Regions from separate parts of the Homo sapiens genome. Here region 2 is linked to region 1. Evidence: promoter capture Hi-C in human tissues and cell types (Jung and others, 2019). All regions are on one chromosome and are shown on one strand. The core of a region is centred on a gene start or on the middle of the fragment in contact, and the rest is flanking DNA. Distances in the headings are between cores, read along the strand shown. Region 1 holds the start of NPPA (natriuretic peptide A). Region 2 overlaps TNFRSF8 (TNF receptor superfamily member 8).

Evidence for each region. Contacts are between HindIII fragments. The study calls those that stand out against the background at their distance.
Region 2: a contact is called between a fragment that was not itself captured here and the fragment with the promoter of NPPA in region 1, in 1 of the 25 tissues and cell types used here (bladder).

Annotation. Positions count from the first base shown.
Region 1 is chr1:11,845,667-11,849,688 of GRCh38, reverse strand. NPPA (natriuretic peptide A) reads left to right here and starts at 1,906. Exons shown (of 3, transcript NM_006172.4): 1 at 1,906-2,127; 2 at 2,250-2,576; 3 at 3,675-3,980. The coding sequence starts at 2,005. The coding sequence ends at 3,680. It also overlaps NPPA-AS1. RefSeq lists an enhancer at 1,080-2,870. The HindIII fragment of the contact is 8,124 bases long and covers 1-2,168 here.
Region 2 is chr1:12,111,216-12,115,237 of GRCh38, reverse strand. It overlaps TNFRSF8 (TNF receptor superfamily member 8), which reads right to left. Exons shown (of 15, transcript NM_001243.5): 7 at 3,224-3,340. Among named protein-coding and RNA genes, the nearest start is that of TNFRSF8, 50 kb to the right of the region's middle. The HindIII fragment of the contact is 4,748 bases long and covers 1-4,022 here.

The DNA.
Region 1 (4,022 bases), core at 657-3,156:
AGCTCTCTACGTGAAATAGGCTAGGATACAGACATCAGCGTCAGACCTGGGGATCCAGTCCTGGTTCCGCCACTTAGGCACCTAGTGGCCTTGGGCAAGTGGCATAGCCTCTCGGGCTCAGTTCTGTTCCCTTGTAAGCAAGGACAATGCTATCTACCACCTGGGGATGGTGATCAAAATAAAATCATTTCCATAAAGTTCTCAGCACAGTGCTAGGCATGCTACAAGCAACCAATAAAGACAACTATGATGGCCATCTTGCAGGGACTCAGCACTGCACACTTGTTATGTGTTGACACGTTCTCAGCTCACTTGGGCTCCACAACAATCCTGCAAGGTAGGCAGGGAAGATTTCTACTTTATTCATTCATTTATTTATTTATTTTTTGAGACCGAGTCCCACTCTGTTGCCCAGGCTAGAGTGCAGTGGTGCGATCTTGGTTCACTACAACCTCCGCCTCCCAAGGTCAAGCAATTCTTTTACCTCAGCCTCCCTAGTAGCGGGGATTACAGGCACATGCCACCACACCCAGCTAATTTTTATATTTTTAGTAGAGACAGAGTTTTGCCATGTTGGTAGGGCTGGTCTCAAACTCCTGGCCTCAGGTGATCCACCCACCTTAGCCTCCCAAAGTGCTGGGATTATACGTGTGAGCCACTGCACCCGGCCGGTTTTTAACATTCTTTCTCATTTTACACACAAGGAAAGTAAGGCTGCGAAGAGGTATGCAACTGGTTTGTTTTGGGCTACAGTACTGGTCTCTCAGCCCTTCAAATTTAGAGTTTTCCCCCAGTATACGTTGCATTGAATGGTAATGGCTAACACTGAGTTCAGTGCTTAGCAAACAGGCCATTCATTAAACATAGACAGACTTGCTGCCTGTTATTTCCCTTTTGGGGGCCAGGGAAATTGTGACCTTGGTGGCTCGGTCACTTGCCACTTGCCACGTCCTCAGGGAAGGATGTAGAAGGCATTGAGGGAAACTGACTATACCTCCTTCACCCCCACCTCCCTTCCTCCATCGGTCAAGTTGCCACGGGCACAAGCCCAGGAAGGGCAGGGGGATGTTAACAAACTTCAGACACGAAGAGTCTGAGCATCTATAAACAGCAACGGAAGAAATGAAATTGGCTGCGTCCTCTAAGCCTGTCCCCGCAGCATGCTGGAGGAGGGTCGCGGGGGACATGGAAGAGGAGGAGCTTTGGAGAGAGGATGCTTGTGCTCCCCCGCCTTTTCTTGCTATTTCTATTTGGGGGTTGGATTCCTGGGAGCTTCATCACATTTGGTTCTCAGCTGACTTTATATACTAAAAAATAACTTCCTTTCGCCTGACCATGGAGAGGGACTGCCAGGGGTGAAGGCAGCCCTGTCTGAGGCCAGAGGTCTGCCCACGTGGCGGATGAGGCAGGTGTGAGGCCAGCTTGAGCATCTGGATCCATTTGTCTCGGGCTGCTGGCTGCCTGCCATTTCCTCCTCTCCACCCTTATTTGGAGGCCCTGACAGCTGAGCCACAAACAAACCAGGGGAGCTGGGCACCAGCCAAGCGTCACCCTCTGTTTCCCCGCACGGGTACCAGCGTCGAGGAGAAAGAATCCTGAGGCACGGCGGTGAGATAACCAAGGACTCTTTTTTACTCTTCTCACACCTTTGAAGTGGGAGCCTCTTGAGTCAAATCAGTAAGAATGCGGCTCTTGCAGCTGAGGGTCTGGGGGGCTGTTGGGGCTGCCCAAGGCAGAGAGGGGCTGTGACAAGCCCTGCGGGATGATAACTTTAAAAGGGCATCTCCTGCTGGCTTCTCACTTGGCAGCTTTATCACTGCAAGTGACAGAATGGGGAGGGTTCTGTCTCTCCTGCGTGCTTGGAGAGCTGGGGGGCTATAAAAAGAGGCGGCACTGGGCAGCTGGGAGACAGGGACAGACGTAGGCCAAGAGAGGGGAACCAGAGAGGAACCAGAGGGGAGAGACAGAGCAGCAAGCAGTGGATTGCTCCTTGACGACGCCAGCATGAGCTCCTTCTCCACCACCACCGTGAGCTTCCTCCTTTTACTGGCATTCCAGCTCCTAGGTCAGACCAGAGCTAATCCCATGTACAATGCCGTGTCCAACGCAGACCTGATGGATTTCAAGGTAGGGCCAGGAAAGCGGGTGCAGTCTGGGGCCAGGGGGCTTTCTGATGCTGTGCTCACTCCTCTTGATTTCCTCCAAGTCAGTGAGGTTTATCCCTTTCCCTGTATTTTCCTTTTCTAAAGAATTTGCTGGACCATTTGGAAGAAAAGATGCCTTTAGAAGATGAGGTCGTGCCCCCACAAGTGCTCAGTGAGCCGAATGAAGAAGCGGGGGCTGCTCTCAGCCCCCTCCCTGAGGTGCCTCCCTGGACCGGGGAAGTCAGCCCAGCCCAGAGAGATGGAGGTGCCCTCGGGCGGGGCCCCTGGGACTCCTCTGATCGATCTGCCCTCCTAAAAAGCAAGCTGAGGGCGCTGCTCACTGCCCCTCGGAGCCTGCGGAGATCCAGCTGCTTCGGGGGCAGGATGGACAGGATTGGAGCCCAGAGCGGACTGGGCTGTAACAGCTTCCGGGTAAGAGGAACTGGGGATGGAAATGGGATGGGATGGACACTACTGGGAGACACCTTCAGCAGGAAAGGGACCAATGCAGAAGCTCATTCCCTCTCAAGTTTCTGCCCCAACACCCAGAGTGCCCCATGGGTGTCAGGACATGCCATCTATTGTCCTTAGCTAGTCTGCTGAGAAAATGCTTAAAAAAAAAAGGGGGGGGGGCTGGGCACAGTGGCTCACGCCTGTAATCCCAGCACTTTGGGAGGCCGAGGCAGGCGGATCATGAGGTCAAGAGATCAAGACTATCCTGGCCAACATGGTGAAACCCCAGCTCTACTAAAAATACAAAAATTAGCTGGGTGTGGTGGCGGGCACCTGTACTCTCAGCTACTTGGGAGGCTGAGGCAGGAGAATCACTTGAACCCAGGAGGCAGAGGTTGCAGTGAGCAGAGATCACGCCACTGCAGTCCAGCCTAGGTGATAGAGCGAGACTGTCTCAAAAAAAAAAAAAAAAGGCCAGGCACGGTGGCTCACGCCTGTAATCCCAGCGCTTTGGGAGGCCAAGGCGGGTGGATCACGAGGTCAGGAGATGGAGACCATCCTGGCTAACACGGTGAAACCCCGTCTCTACTAAAAATACAAAAAATTAGCCAGGCGTGGTGGCAGGCGCCTGTAAGTCCTAGCTACTCCGGAGGCTGAGGCAGGAGAATGGCGTGAACCCGGGAGGCGGAGCTTGCAGTGAGCAGAGATGGCACCACTGCACTCCAGCCTGGGCGACAGAGCAAGACTCCGTCTCAAAAAAAAAAAAAAAAAAAGCAACTGCCACTAGCACTGGGAAATTAAAATATTCATAGAGCCAAGTTATCTTTGCATGGCTGATTAGCAGTTCATATTCCTCCCCAGAATTGCAAGATCCTGAAGGGCTTAAGTGAAATTTACTCTGATGAGTAACTTGCTTATCAATTCATGAAGCTCAGAGGGTCATCAGGCTGGGGTGGGGGCCGGTGGGAAGCAGGTGGTCAGTAATCAAGTTCAGAGGATGGGCACACTCATACATGAAGCTGACTTTTCCAGGACAGCCAGGTCACCAAGCCAGATATGTCTGTGTTCTCTTTGCAGTACTGAAGATAACAGCCAGGGAGGACAAGCAGGGCTGGGCCTAGGGACAGACTGCAAGAGGCTCCTGTCCCCTGGGGTCTCTGCTGCATTTGTGTCATCTTGTTGCCATGGAGTTGTGATCATCCCATCTAAGCTGCAGCTTCCTGTCAACACTTCTCACATCTTATGCTAACTGTAGATAAAGTGGTTTGATGGTGACTTCCTCGCCTCTCCCACCCCATGCATTAAATTTTAAGGTAGAACCTCACCTGTTACTGAAAGTGGTTTGAAAGTGAATAAACTTCAGCACCATGGACAGAAGACAAATGCCTGCGTTGGTGTGCTTTCTTTCTTCTTGGGAAGAGAATT
Region 2 (4,022 bases), core at 507-3,006, 270 kb before region 1:
CTTATCAGATTGCATCCTTTAATCTATGCACTTTACCATATGCCCACTATCTCTCCCTAAAGCTGTTAAAAGAAAGTCCTCCAGGGGACGGGGTGAGCGGGCATGGGTGCAGAGGAGCCAAGACTGGCCATGACTCCATAACCGTTTAAAGCTGGGTGATAGTACGCAGCCATCTCTGACTCACTCTACATCTGAATATGTTTGAAATTTTTAATAATAAAAAGATTTTTTGGCCAGACACGGTGGCTCACGACTGTAATCCCGGCACTTTGGGAGGCCGAGGCAGGCAGATCACAAGGTCAGGAGTTCAAGTCCAGCCTGACCAACATGGTGAAACCCCGTCTCTACTAAAAATACAAAAATTAGCCATGCCTGGTGGCACGTGCCTGTAATCCCAGCTACTCAGGAGGCTGAGGCAGGAGAATCACTTGAACCTGGGAGGCAGAGGTTGCAGTGAGCCAAGATAGTGCCACTGCACTCCAGCCTGGGCGACAGAACAAGACTCTGTCTATTTAAAAAAAAAAAAAAAAAAAAAAAAAAAAAGATTTTTTTTCCTCCAAAAGCAAAAAAAAACCATGTTAGAGGTATTATTTTTAATAAGTGTAATAATGCATTTGTACGTATTCGGGAATATTTTGCAACGCTCCACTTAGAGGTAAATACAGAACGACTGCATCAGTAGATTAGGCAAATGGGACCTCTCCGCGAGGGTAGATCTCAATCAGCAGGATACTTAGAGACCCAGCATGATAATGATAAGGGCTGGACAGTCTCTTCTTACAACATCCAGAGCAAGGGAACTGGGCAGGATTTGGGGAATTTGTGCAAAGGGTGTGTGTGAGCTCAGCAATGAATGAAACCATTTGGGACAATGGCAGCTATTATCATTATTATTATAGCTCTTAAGATAACTGAGTATGTGTGAGACAGTAGTCTCAGCACTCTACCCAGATTAACCTACAATCATGTATTCAATTCTCACATGGTTCTCTGAGATAGATAATACTATGCCCATTTTGCAGCAGAGGAAACTGAGGCACAGAGAGGTTAGGAAACCTGCTTGAGGTTATAGGCTATCAAGTGGGAGAGGCGGGATCTGAACCCGGCACTCGGGTTCTAGAGCTCATGCCTTTAGCTACTAATACACCACTCCACTGCCTCGTGGGGTTTCAGTTAGGAGAGCTGAAGGAATTACTGGGCCCAGAGCCAACACCTCTTTCTCCATATGTCCACATGGTGGTTGTGGCAGACTGTATTTCCCCAAAACATGGCTGCAGTGATGTTCTGGCCCTTCCAGAGCCTTTGCCACCTACCTGTCAAGAAGTACAACTGTTTTCCTTCCCTTGGTCTCAAGTGACATTTGTGGTTGCCTCAACAAACAGAAAGTGGTAGAAGTTCTGTGTGACTTCCAAGGCCAGGTCATAAAAGGAGGGGTGGCTGCTGCCTCTGTCTGTCTCTCTCTCTCTCTTTCTGTCTCTCTCTCTCTCTTTCTCTGTCTTTCTCTCTGTCACACTCTATCTCTGTCTCTCTCTGTCTCTCAGTCTCTCTTTCTGTCTTTCTGTCTCTCTCTCTCTCGCTCACTCCGTCTCTTTCTCTTTCTGTCTCTCTCTCTCCCTCTTTCTGTCTCTCTCTCACTCTCTCTCTCCCTCTCATTCTGTCTCTTTCTCTCTGTCTCTCTCTTTCTCTCTCTCACTCTTTCTCTCCCTCTTTCTGTCTCTCTCTCACTCTCTCTTTCTGTCTGTCTCTCTCTCTCAAGACTTTTATGGCCGGGGGCAATGGCTCATGCTTGTAATTCCAACACTTTGGGAGGCCAAGGCCGGCGGATCACTTGAGGCCAGGAGTTTGGGACCAGCCTGGCCAACATGGTGAAACCCCGTCTCTACTAAAAATACAAAAAAAGAAAAAAAGAGAAAAAGACTTCGCCTTTAGAACCTAACCACCAGACCATGAGGAAGCCCCAGGTAAGACACGAAGAGGCCGACATGGAAGGGAACCAAGGCTGCAGCCAGGAGCCAACATCAACCCCAAGGCAGGTGAATGAATGAAGCTTCAGAAGTTCCTGATCTGCAGCTTTTGGGCTTTCCAGCTAAGACCTCAGACATTGTGGAGCAGAGACAAGCTGTCCCCGCAGTGCCCTGTCTGAATTCTGACTCACAGAATCTGTGAGTACAAAGAATGATTTGTTTTCACAATTAAGTTTTAAGAAAATTTGCTATGCAGCCTTAGTAACTAGGACAGAGACCTCCAATGACAACAAACAGTGTCTGTGGTTCTTTTTGGCCTCCCCTGACCCTTCACTCTGCTTTGCTGCCCAAAAGCAGCTCTGGACAAGGAGACAGACACACATTCCCAGTGGCCTCCGTGAATAGCCAGGGCCTCTAACAGTCACAGCAGCCTGTGGCCTGAGCAACACCCCCTGCCCACATGCCCCTCGGGGTGCTGCTGGCGCTGGGAGGTTGTGATGGGCTGGGCACAGGGAAGCCCCACACCTGCATCGTGCTGTGTCTGTGCACTCAGTAAGTGCTTGTCAAAACAGCTCGCAGGCCGGGCATGGTGGCTCATGCCTATAATCCCAGCAATTTAGGAAGCCAAGGTGGGAGGACCATTTGAGTCCAGGAGTTCGAGAGCAGCCTGGGCAACATAGTGAGACCCCCATCTGTATGAAAAAAAATTTTTTTTAATTAGCCAGGCATGGTAGTGTGCACCTATAGTCCCAGCCACTTGAAAGGCTGAGGCAAAAGGATCATGTGATCCTGGGAGGTCACAGCTGCAGGGAGCTATGATCCCACCACCGTACTGCAGCTTGGGTGAAGGAGTGAGACCCTGTCTGGGAAAAAAAAAAAAAGAATAAGTGGCTCATAGGGGCAGCGAGTGGAGTGGACGAGAACCTGGAACCTGGTGGCACCTGTCTGGGTTCAAACTCCAGCCCACAGCCCTTGGAAGTTCCCTGACTTCCCAAAGCCTCCGTTTCCTCCTCTGTAAAAGGGGAATGATCACAATGCTTGAATCACAGAGTAGTTACAAACATTGATGAGCCGAGTTTGGAACAGGTGGGTGATTCACAAACGCTTCCTGGAAGGAAATAATATGCCAATGGAAGCCCTCTGAAAAGAGGCGACCCCCATCAAAAACCCACAAACATAAGGGGGAGTAGTTACTGGAAGTTCACGGTTCAAAAATGCAGAGAGGTAAACTGAGGCCCGGGGAGGGACGAGGCCCTTACCTCGAGAACAGCTCACGCAGGCCGTGCAGCGGCCGGCCTCGTCCAGGTAGTAGTCGGGCTCACACTGCTTTCTGCAATCACCAGACCCCTCTGGGCATGGCTGTGTTGGGGACAGACCTGGGGAAAGAAGCAGAGAAGCTGCAGGCCAGGCCGCCTTGGCAAAGGCCTCACTCCCCACCCAACCCTGAAGCCCCCCATCCCTCACCGTGGCCAGCTCCCAAACTCCGCATGTCAGCTCAGTCCAGCCTTTCAGAGGGAGTCCTGAGGCTCAGAGAGGACAGGAATGCTGCGTGCATTCCACACGAGAGGAGGGTACTCATTGCCCCCCAACCAGCCCCTGCCCACTGTTCCTCCTGAGGCCACCATGCCACAGCTTCCCCCAACCCTGTCTCATGGCTCTGTCACTCCCCTGCTCAAAACTTTGGGAACAGCTTCCCTGAGAGCTCAGCACACTAGCGTAACTCCTGTTCAGAATGGTATTGGGCAGGGAGGGGCTGGGTGCCTCCTGCCTCCCTCTTTTAAAGACTGGTGTGGGCCGGGCGCGGTGGCTCACGTCTGTAATCCCAGCACTTTGGGAGGCTGAGGCGGGTGGATTACTTGAGGCCAGGAGTTTGTGACCAGCCTGGCCAACATGGTGAAACCCCGTCTCTACTAAAAAAAAGAAAAGTAGCCAAATGTGGTGGCAGGCGCCTGTAATCCCAGCTACTCGGGAGGCTGAGGCAGGAGAATTGCTTGAACCCAGGAGGCGGAGGTTGCAGTGAGCCGAGATCACGCCACTGCACTCCAGTCTGGGCGACAG